Linked DNA regions of Homo sapiens: region 2 is linked to region 1. The links are contacts of gene promoters, found by promoter capture Hi-C in blood cells and fetal thymus (Javierre and others, 2016). All regions are on one chromosome and are shown on one strand. The core of a region is centred on a gene start or on the middle of the fragment in contact, and the rest is flanking DNA. Distances in the headings are between cores, read along the strand shown. Region 1 holds the start of KCNB1 (potassium voltage-gated channel subfamily B member 1). Region 2 overlaps SLC9A8 (solute carrier family 9 member A8).

The links. Contacts are between HindIII fragments. The CHiCAGO score rates a contact against its expected background, and 5 or more counts as called.
Region 2: a fragment that was not itself captured here is called in contact with the fragment with the promoter of KCNB1 in region 1 in 1 of 17 cell types (endothelial precursors); the score reaches 5.2 in endothelial precursors.

The regions. Positions count from the first base shown.
Region 1 is chr20:49,479,688-49,484,060 of GRCh38, forward strand. It overlaps KCNB1 (potassium voltage-gated channel subfamily B member 1), which reads right to left and starts at 2,981. Exons shown (of 2, transcript NM_004975.4): 1 at 2,227-2,981. The coding sequence starts at 2,793. The HindIII fragment of the contact is 15,223 bases long and covers 1-4,373 here.
Region 2 is chr20:49,867,587-49,871,959 of GRCh38, forward strand. The region is part of intron 10 of SLC9A8 (solute carrier family 9 member A8); the gene reads left to right. Among named protein-coding and RNA genes, the nearest start is that of MIR12122, 5.9 kb to the left of the region's middle. RefSeq lists enhancers at 164-273, 514-563. The HindIII fragment of the contact is 5,734 bases long and covers 1-4,373 here.

The sequences.
Region 1 (4,373 bases), core at 1,731-4,230:
AATAATGTGATCCAATTTACATTTTGAAAAGCTCACTTTGGCTGCTATGTGGGGAATGGATTGCAGGGGCAAAAGTGGAAGCCGGGAGACTGGGGAGGAGGCTGCGGCACTTGATCATTATAGAAAGAACACTCGGTTTGGATTTCTGGCTACTCCTGACTGCCTGTGGTGTGACCTTAGGCAAGTTACTTAACCTCTTTCAGCCTCACTGTTTGCGAAAGGTGGGATAATAACAGAGCTGCGTTGTTACACTCCATACACAGTAGGTGTTTGATCATTGGCAGCCAGGATTTCTATTCTGAGGGCCAGTGAGCCTGCCTCCCTCCCCATTTCAGCTCTGGCTACAGAAAATCCTAGATGGTCCATCTGCCAGGAATGTGAGCTGGCAGCCCCAGACTGGGATCATGGAGAGGTCACAAGGCTGTCCCTGCTAGCGGATTAACCCAAGGGAGAGGAGAGGTTCTTTATTCCCAAACAGCACCTCTTGCAAGCCCCGGTGCTTGGGTCTTGCTGCCAGACCAAAACATGGCCCTGTGCCTGCTTCTTCTCTGGGAGGGCAAATTGTCCAGTTCCCTGTACCTTGTTCTCATGTCTTAGGGATGGGACAGGGAGGGAGAGTCACATTTGGGCCTAAATGGGATGTGCAGTGGGAGAACCTGTGTCATGCCTGGAAATAGCAAAATAAGTCTGTTGATCCTAAGCTGATTAAGGGTGAGTGACTCTGTCTTAGGAGGAGGCTTTTTGGACACAAAATTGGGGGCGGGATTATGGAGAGAGACAGCCCACAGCCTCAGAGGAGGAAGCCAGGCCCAGGAGCCTCTACATCCTTGTTAGGGCCAACAGGGAAACGAAAAAAACACGTGGGGGCTCCCTCCACCCTCTTACCAGCCACCCCTTCTCCATCCACTCTCAGGGGCCTCTCCTTGGGTGGCTAGATCTGGAGGAAGGACCCCACGGAGTCTCCCTTCAGACTGGGACCTGCAGGTGGGCCTTCAGTGAGAACTGAGCCGGAGACCCCACAATGAAAGGCTGGGCTGGACAGGAGTCAGCCCTAGCTAGTAAGATATGGCTGGATATTTAGGCTTCCTCCTCTCCTCTTTCTTTTACCACAAATCTACTTACCTGACCCCTTTTTTTAGGCCCCACACTCAGTTACATTCTCCCCATGTTTCCCAAGTTGGTCTTGCTGGATTTCAACATCAACATCTCTCTTTTCTGGGTTCTCCGTGAACCTCACAGAACCTCTTTTATAGCCTTGCACACACTGTTTTGTCATTTGCTCCCAGCACCCAGCACTTCGGGCACATGAAGACAGGCCCCATCTTTCCCAGGCAACCCCAAATCCCAGCCTGACGTAGAGAAGTTGCTGATCAACCAGTGCCCTCCTGCCCTGCCTTGGCTCCCACCCCAAGCCTTCCTCAGTCCCCTACAGCCCCTGCCATTACCCAGCAGCACCAAAGACTCTCTGGCCCACTCTTTGTGTTCAAACTCATTCCTGCCTCCTCCTCCTCCTCCTCCTTTATTTTTCACATTGCCTCATTTTTCTCTCCTATTTTGAAATTTACATCTTGTTCCAAGAGCTGAAACATCTTTACAAGCTGCACCAAACCATTCTGGAAATAAACTCACCAAATAAATAAGTAACCAGGGGGTGACCCCTCACCCGCAAGCATCCACAACCAACTGCATGTGTCGTGTGGGTCCACACCCACCCCTCGGGGTCCCTTCTTACTTATGTTTAAACTATCTGACAGTATCTCAATGTCCTGTAAGCATGTCTGTAAGCTGCTTTTTTCCCTTGCTGGGGCAGAGTGAGGTTATAAATATGGAGATATTAAAATCACAGGGTGATCCAATCCAGCCTAGGTCTGGGACTTCACAGGGAAGCAAACCCTACTCCACCCCAGCAAGCCACTGTTGTCTCTCTGTGCTCTCTCTCTTATTCGTCAGTGTCCATCTTCTTGCTGTGGCTTTTTATGGGTCCCTGTGAAACCTCTCCAACCAAGTAGGGGTATAACGTCTTGGATAATAAAAAGATGGAGTGACCAGTGCCACATGGGAAAAGTCTGAGGGGGTTGGTCCTCACCTCTGGGGACTCAGTCCTAGCCCCTCCCCATTACTAATCTTCATCGTTGGGAACAAAGCCAGAGTCCTCCAGCAGTGGTCCTCAATATGGGGATGCAAGCAGATCCCCCCAGACCAGCAGCCCCCAGATCCCAGACTCACCTTGGCAGCCACAGAGGAATTGGGCTTCTCCAGTAGGTCCCAGAGTTTTTTCCTCTTCTCTGCGCAGCACGTGTTATCGAACTCCTCGCCTTCCCGCTCCCGTAGGGTCTCGGCCTCACGCTTGAGCTCCTCGTTCATCTGCTCTTTCTTCTGGTGGTAGCGGGCCTGGCAGCAGGACTCCAGGTAGATCTCGTCGATGCCCCAGTAGTCGAGCTCTTGGCTGAAGCTGAGCGCGCACATCTCCTCCATCATGTGCAGTCGCCCAGTGCGGTAGAAGTTGAGGATGGAGGTGAAGGCGCCCGGGTGGCGGTCAAAGAAGTACTCGTTGTCGTCGAGGCTGTAGTCATCGCACACCTCGAGCAGCGAGTCGTGCGTGTTGCAGTCGCGGAGCTTGCCCAGCCGCGTGCGGGGCAGGCGGTCCAGGGTACGCCAGAGTACCTCGTGCGCCAGCCCCCCGACGTTGAGGCGGACCCGCCGAGAGCACGCCTTGCTGCGCACGATCTCCATGGGCTCGGGCGGCAGCGAGCTGGTGGAGCGGGAGCCATGCTTCGTCATGCCCGCCGGCATCGCTGATCCGGCCGCCCCCGCCCCCCCTGCCCCCCCAGGCCGCTGTCACTCGACGGCAAGGCCCGCTGCTGCGGGGGAGGGGGGCAGGGAGCGCTGTGGGCTGCTGGGGGTGCAGGGGGCCCCGCGGGCGCGCGTCACGGCCGTCTTCTCACCTCCATCCCGACGGCTGCGAGGCAGAAAGCGAAAGCGGACGCGGGTCAGCAAACGGGGAGCTGGGCATGCTGTCCCCCCGCCCCCCACCTCTCCACCAGGCTCCCAGCCGGCCTTGACCTTCCCCCGCGCTTAAGCGGCTCAGTGGGGTAGGACGGATGGTCGCTGTCCCTCCCGCCGGTGCTGAAGTCCGCCGCACCCCATGGATGGAGGGAGGGGCCGCCCCTCGGGGCGGGGAGAGGGCCCCAAGAGATGCCCCTGGAGCCCGGGAGGCCCCACCCTGGGCTTCTGCGGCCCAGGCGCGACCCAGCCGCCCGGGGCGCTGTCCGCCCCTTAGAGTGCTGAAACTCTCTTCATTATGGGTCTCCCGATCGAGTCCCGAACCTGGCCCCGCCATGGGGAGAGAGGGGGAGCTGCATGAAAACTTTCTTTCTTTATCTTTTTCTTTCTTTCTTCTTCTTCTTTCCTTCTTTTTTTTTTTTTTAACGAGTTCTCTTCTTTTCCTTCCCCTTCTCGAGATAATCAAGATTTTGGGGGTGGGGGAATGGCAGCGGGCTTTTTTCCAAATCTTAAAAGATTTGGGGGAATTCCGGGGGTTCCAGGTGCCCACCTGTCCGAGGTCACAACAGACGGGGTGTGCACAACAGCCCCTCTGTCCTGGAGCGACCCCTCTTCCCAAACACTGGAGCATCTCCTGAGATTGCTCCAGCGACAAGGTGAGCCGCGAGGAGGAAAAGCCCGCTCTCGCCTCTCCCTCTGAGCCCCCAACCCTACCGCAGGAGGGGCGGGCAGAGTCCTCGGGATCCGCCTGCTCCGTCCTCCCCTCGCTCCTTCCCCGCCCCCTTCTCCTCCTTCTCCTCCCCCTCCTCTTCCTTCTCCCCCTCCTCCTCCTCTTCCTCCTCCTCCTCCTCCTCCTCCTACTCCTCCTCCTCGTTCCTCTCCCGCGATGGCTTTTTATAACTCCGGGTTCTGCGCCTTTCCCCGGGCTTGGAAGGGAAGGGGTGGGGGAGGTGGGAGGCGGGGAAATGAGCTAAATTTTCTGGCCTTTTCAAAAGGTGCCATCCTCCTACCGCGCACTAGTGATTTCGGGGGGTTCCCCTGAGCACCCCCTGCATGTAGGGCTCACGCCTTAGCCCCAGAATGGGGATTGCGCGTCCCCTCAGGCCTCAGCCCTTGCCTGCCTCCCACCCCGCTCCCCTCCAGCCTGGAGCTGCGGAGCCCGAGCAGACCAACAGGCCGAGCTGCGGCAGGCAAACCCCCTGTCCGTGTCCCCATGCACCCCCACGGAAGGCCGTACGCCCCAACACTCACCCCCAGGGCGGCCGCCTCCTGGGGCCAGGGACCGCGCATCGTCCCGGCCGCCCGGGCGCCCCCGCCCGTGGGCAGCGGCGGTCCCGGGGCCGGGCTGAGCCGGGCCTACCCCGGCCGGG
Region 2 (4,373 bases), core at 708-3,207, 390 kb after region 1:
GCTCTCTTTCTGTGCAGCTTCCCCGACTCAACAGGACAGCCCTCTTAAAGCCTCAGCCTCAGGCAGTCAGCTCAGCAGGGGGCCTAGGGAAAGAGTGGCCACCTTTGTCTCCCTTCCGGCAGGAATCACAGTCCTACCCTATCTTTTGTCCCATGTCAGAAAATAGTTTTGTTTCATATCTTGTATCAGGTTTTCTAGTTATGTAGAGCAGGACAGTGTTCTGTGTAGCAGTAATTTCTTCAGACGCAAAGCTGAAGGCCCAGTGGTCTCTAGTGACTCAGTTGACAGAACTTTTCTACCCAGTCGCTATCCGGAGTCACACTTGGGTGCTGCATGAGCAGCACAAGGAGGAAGCAGAGTGGACTCACCATTTTCAGGGTTTTGTTTTTCATCGCAGACCAGTTCACCAGGGTAATTCCATCCTGGTGTCTGCCATGAGGTTCCCTTTCTTTACTGAATGTTGGCACTTACAAAAACGTTACCTGTGAGTCATTCGGCTCTAGCCTAGCTATTTTTACATCTGTTTTTCTAAATTGTTCCTCTACCCCCTTGAGAAGATCATTGAGTACCTGTTGGCAAAGATGTGTTTCATGCATCTGTTTGGAATCTGTGATTAAAATAAGGGAGTGTTTTTCTTACCTTCTTTTCAGACTGGCAGTGTTTCCTGTTGAGAGGGGTTTCATTTCCTTAGGGACCTTGCTCCACACACAGCAGTGCAAGCCAGGAACACCAGATCTGCCTCTGGGTGAGGGAACCTGCTCTGTCCGCACTTTGCCTTTTGGGTATTTGTCACGCAGGGTTTTCAGAGAGGGGCAGGATGGCCCTGTGTGGTGTGTGGACGCCCCACATTGCACTGTGAAAGCACAGATGGAAAGGGTGGTTTCTGCTGTCTTCACCTTCCTTTGTGTGCTCCCCTTTTCCTGACTATCACAAAGGACTGATCTCAAGTGGTTCCCAAGACCATGGAGCAGGACATTCTCTTCCTAGGAAGTGGGAATTATTTACCTAAATCCACATGTAGGGAACACAGTTGCTAAGGACTGGGGCTGGATAACAGACAGACTTGGATTTGAATCCCAGCTCCACCTCTTATTGGCTGTGTAACCTCAGATTACAGACTTAACCACCCCATGCTCTACTTCCTCATTATAAAATAGACAAAAGGGCCAGCCTGACGCCTTTGCTGAGGAGTGGGGAGCGATGCAAGTGAGAGTCCTGATGGGGCATCTGTGCCACTGCTGGGGTGGCCAGAAGTCCTGGTTTGCCCTCTGTCTCAATATGATGAATTAATAATATCCCCGTTTATTCTAAAAAATGTCCTGGTATCCACAGCAAATCAAACAGTCTCCCTAATTATAACTCAGCAAGCGTTAGCTATTCTCAGAATATTTGTTCTGACTGTATCCATGTTAACTATTTTTATTGTTCAGTCAAGCCAGTTTTGAGGGCCACTTTGGCCTCTGACACTAAAGATTCAAAGATGAATAGACCCCACTTAGGCAGAGCAGTTAGCGAACACTGGGCTTGCAGGGGATGGGAGAGAGTGACACTCTGTCAAGGTGAGTCACAGAGGAGGGGACTTTGGGCTTGAAGGATGAGTTTGCAAGATTAATCATGAGATAACACTTTCTTTCTTTCTTTCTTTCTTTTTGAGGCAGAGTTTCGCTCTGTAGCCCAGTCTGGAGTGCAGTGGTGCCATCTCGGCTCACTGCGACCTCTGCCTCCCAGGTTCAAGCAATTCTCTGCCTCAGCCTTCCGAGTAGCTGGGATTACAGGTGCCCACCACCACGCCCGACTAATTTTTTTTTTGTATTTTTAGTAGAGACAGGGTTTCACCATCTTGGCCAGGCTGATCTTGAACTCCTGACCTCGTGATCTGTCCGCCTCGGCCTCCCAAAGTGCTGGGATTACAGGCGTGAGCCACCGCGCCCGGCCAACATAACACTTTCTTAAGATGTTGGCATGGGCCAGGCGCAGTGGCTCACACCTATAATCCCAGCACTTTGGGAGGCCAAGGCAGGTGGATCACGAGGTCAAGAGATCAAAACCATTCTGGCTAATATGGTGAAACCCCATCTCTACTAAAAATACAAAATATTATCTGGGCATGGTGGCACGTGCTGGTAGTCCCAGCTACTCGGCAGGCTGAGGCAGGAGAATTGCTTGAACCAGGGAAGCAGAGGTTGCAGTGAGCCGAGATCCTGCCACTGCACTCTAGCCTGGCGACAGAGCAAGACTCCATCTCAAAAAAAAAAATAAAATAAAAATAAAAAGATACTGGCATGAAGTTGGCCAAAGATAGAATGTATGGTGCAGTGCTCTTCTGCACAGATATCTAAGGAATTCCATTGCAGCACTGCTTGGGAGAGAAAAACTGGAAGGAACTATATGTTCATCAGTAATGGAAAAGATCAAATTCCAGTCCATTTGCACTATGGAATCCTGTGCAGCTACTTAAAAAATGAACTTGACCTGTCTGTACTGCCATGGAAAGAATTTGACATATTGTTAAATTTTTTAAAAGTAAGTTGAAAAATCAAACTCTCGCCCATTCAAGAAATACTTATTAAATGTCCACCCTATGCTGAGAACTATCCTTGCTGTTGGGGCTACATTTATAAACAACACAAGATCAGTTTCCTTTTCTTGCAGAAGAAAGCCAGAATTTAAGCAAACCCATACAACAATTCCAGGTGGCAAGAAATGACAAGAAGAGAAATTAAAGCCATGTGACAGAGAGTGGCATGTGGTAGAGAATGGATGGGATCTCAGGCAGTCAGGGAGGTCTCCCCTGGAGGTGGCACTGGAGCCCAGACCTGTGTGGCGAGAGGAGCCAGCCCAGGGACGCTCTAGGGAAGGAGGGTTTTGGCAGCAGGAACTGCAGGAGCCAGGGGTCTGAAGATAGATGTGCGGGAGTGTGGCATGCTCCAGGAAGAGAAGGAAGACCAGTGTGGCCAGGACGCTGCCTCACAGGTTCTGCAGGCCTGAGAAGGAGCTGGGTTTCTAGTATATGCACCACGACAAGAGAGTTGGAAGCCCTTGAAAAAAAATCACTCTGCTGGTAATAGGCACCATATATGTGATAGGATCCTGTTTATTACTTTAGTTTTATTTTATTTTAATTTTATTTTTTGAGACAGGATCATGCTCTGTTACCCAGGCTGGAGTGCAGTGGCACAATCACGTCTCACTGCAGCCTTGACCTCCCCAGGTTTAGGTGATCCTTCCACCTCAGCCTCCTGAGTAGCTGGGACTATAGGCACGTGCTACCACACCCAACTAGTTTTGTATTTTTTGTAGAGCCAGTCTCACTCTGTTGTTCAGGCTGGTCTCAAACTCCTGGGCTCAAGCAATCCACCCACTTTGGCCTCCCAAAGTCCTGGGATTACAAGTGTGAGCCACCATGCCAAGCCTATTACTTTAAAGATAAACTTTATAATCACATGGTAAAAGAACTGGCAGTCTGCATATTGAAGTGTTAATAGTAGTTAAGAGTAGTTACGTCTGAGCGGGCAGTATGAATAGATTGTCTTTTACTCTGTACCTCAGTGAGTCTGAATGTTTTATGGCAAAATATGTTTATTATTGAGTAATTAACACAGCGTACTCATTACGGTTTCACTCAGCCCTCAAGAAGTATGTTATATTTTACATACAGTAAGGCACGGTACAGTGTAAATTGTACCATGATACCTTTTCACTGCCTTTTGGACTTGAATCCCATACTGTCTTCCTTTATTACATCTAGAACAGTGGATGTAACCATAAACAGAAGTGGATTTCCTCTCTCCCTTTCTTTTCTGCCATTCTTCCTTCAGGAGGCTGAACGCTTTTGCTGCATTTGCTTTCTTAAACGATTTTGCCTAATTCTTAAAGGAAATTCTTCCTTAAGCGTATTTTTTCAAATACCATGCCTTTTACCTCACTTAAAAAAGTTATCCTGGTTTGCACCAACCCCCGCTTTTGTGTTTCTGTAGCCTGCTCCACTGGCCGCAGATGAGGGTGATGTGGGTGGTGGAGAGTCCCCTTTGCTTCTGGAGGGCATATGAGGCAGATACTTGAGCCATCCCTCTGGCTTTTGTGCCTGCTGCTGACCCTCTTTCCTTTCGCCTAGAACTCAAGGTGCCCTGACCCCACACTAGCCCAGGGTAAAGCCCTCTGGGATTGTCCAGATGGCCCAGTGCCAACAGTGGGTCAGGTGCACAGGTGGCAGCTGTGGTCCAGTCTCAGCCCCCAGACAGGGCTTACTTATCCATATAGAAAAATCCAAAATGTTTGAATTTGTTGCCATCCTTAAAGATGGAGATTTCCTGTAAGGAAAACCAGAAGGAAGACTGGTCCATGTTAGATCCTCAGTCCCACAGGGCTACTGT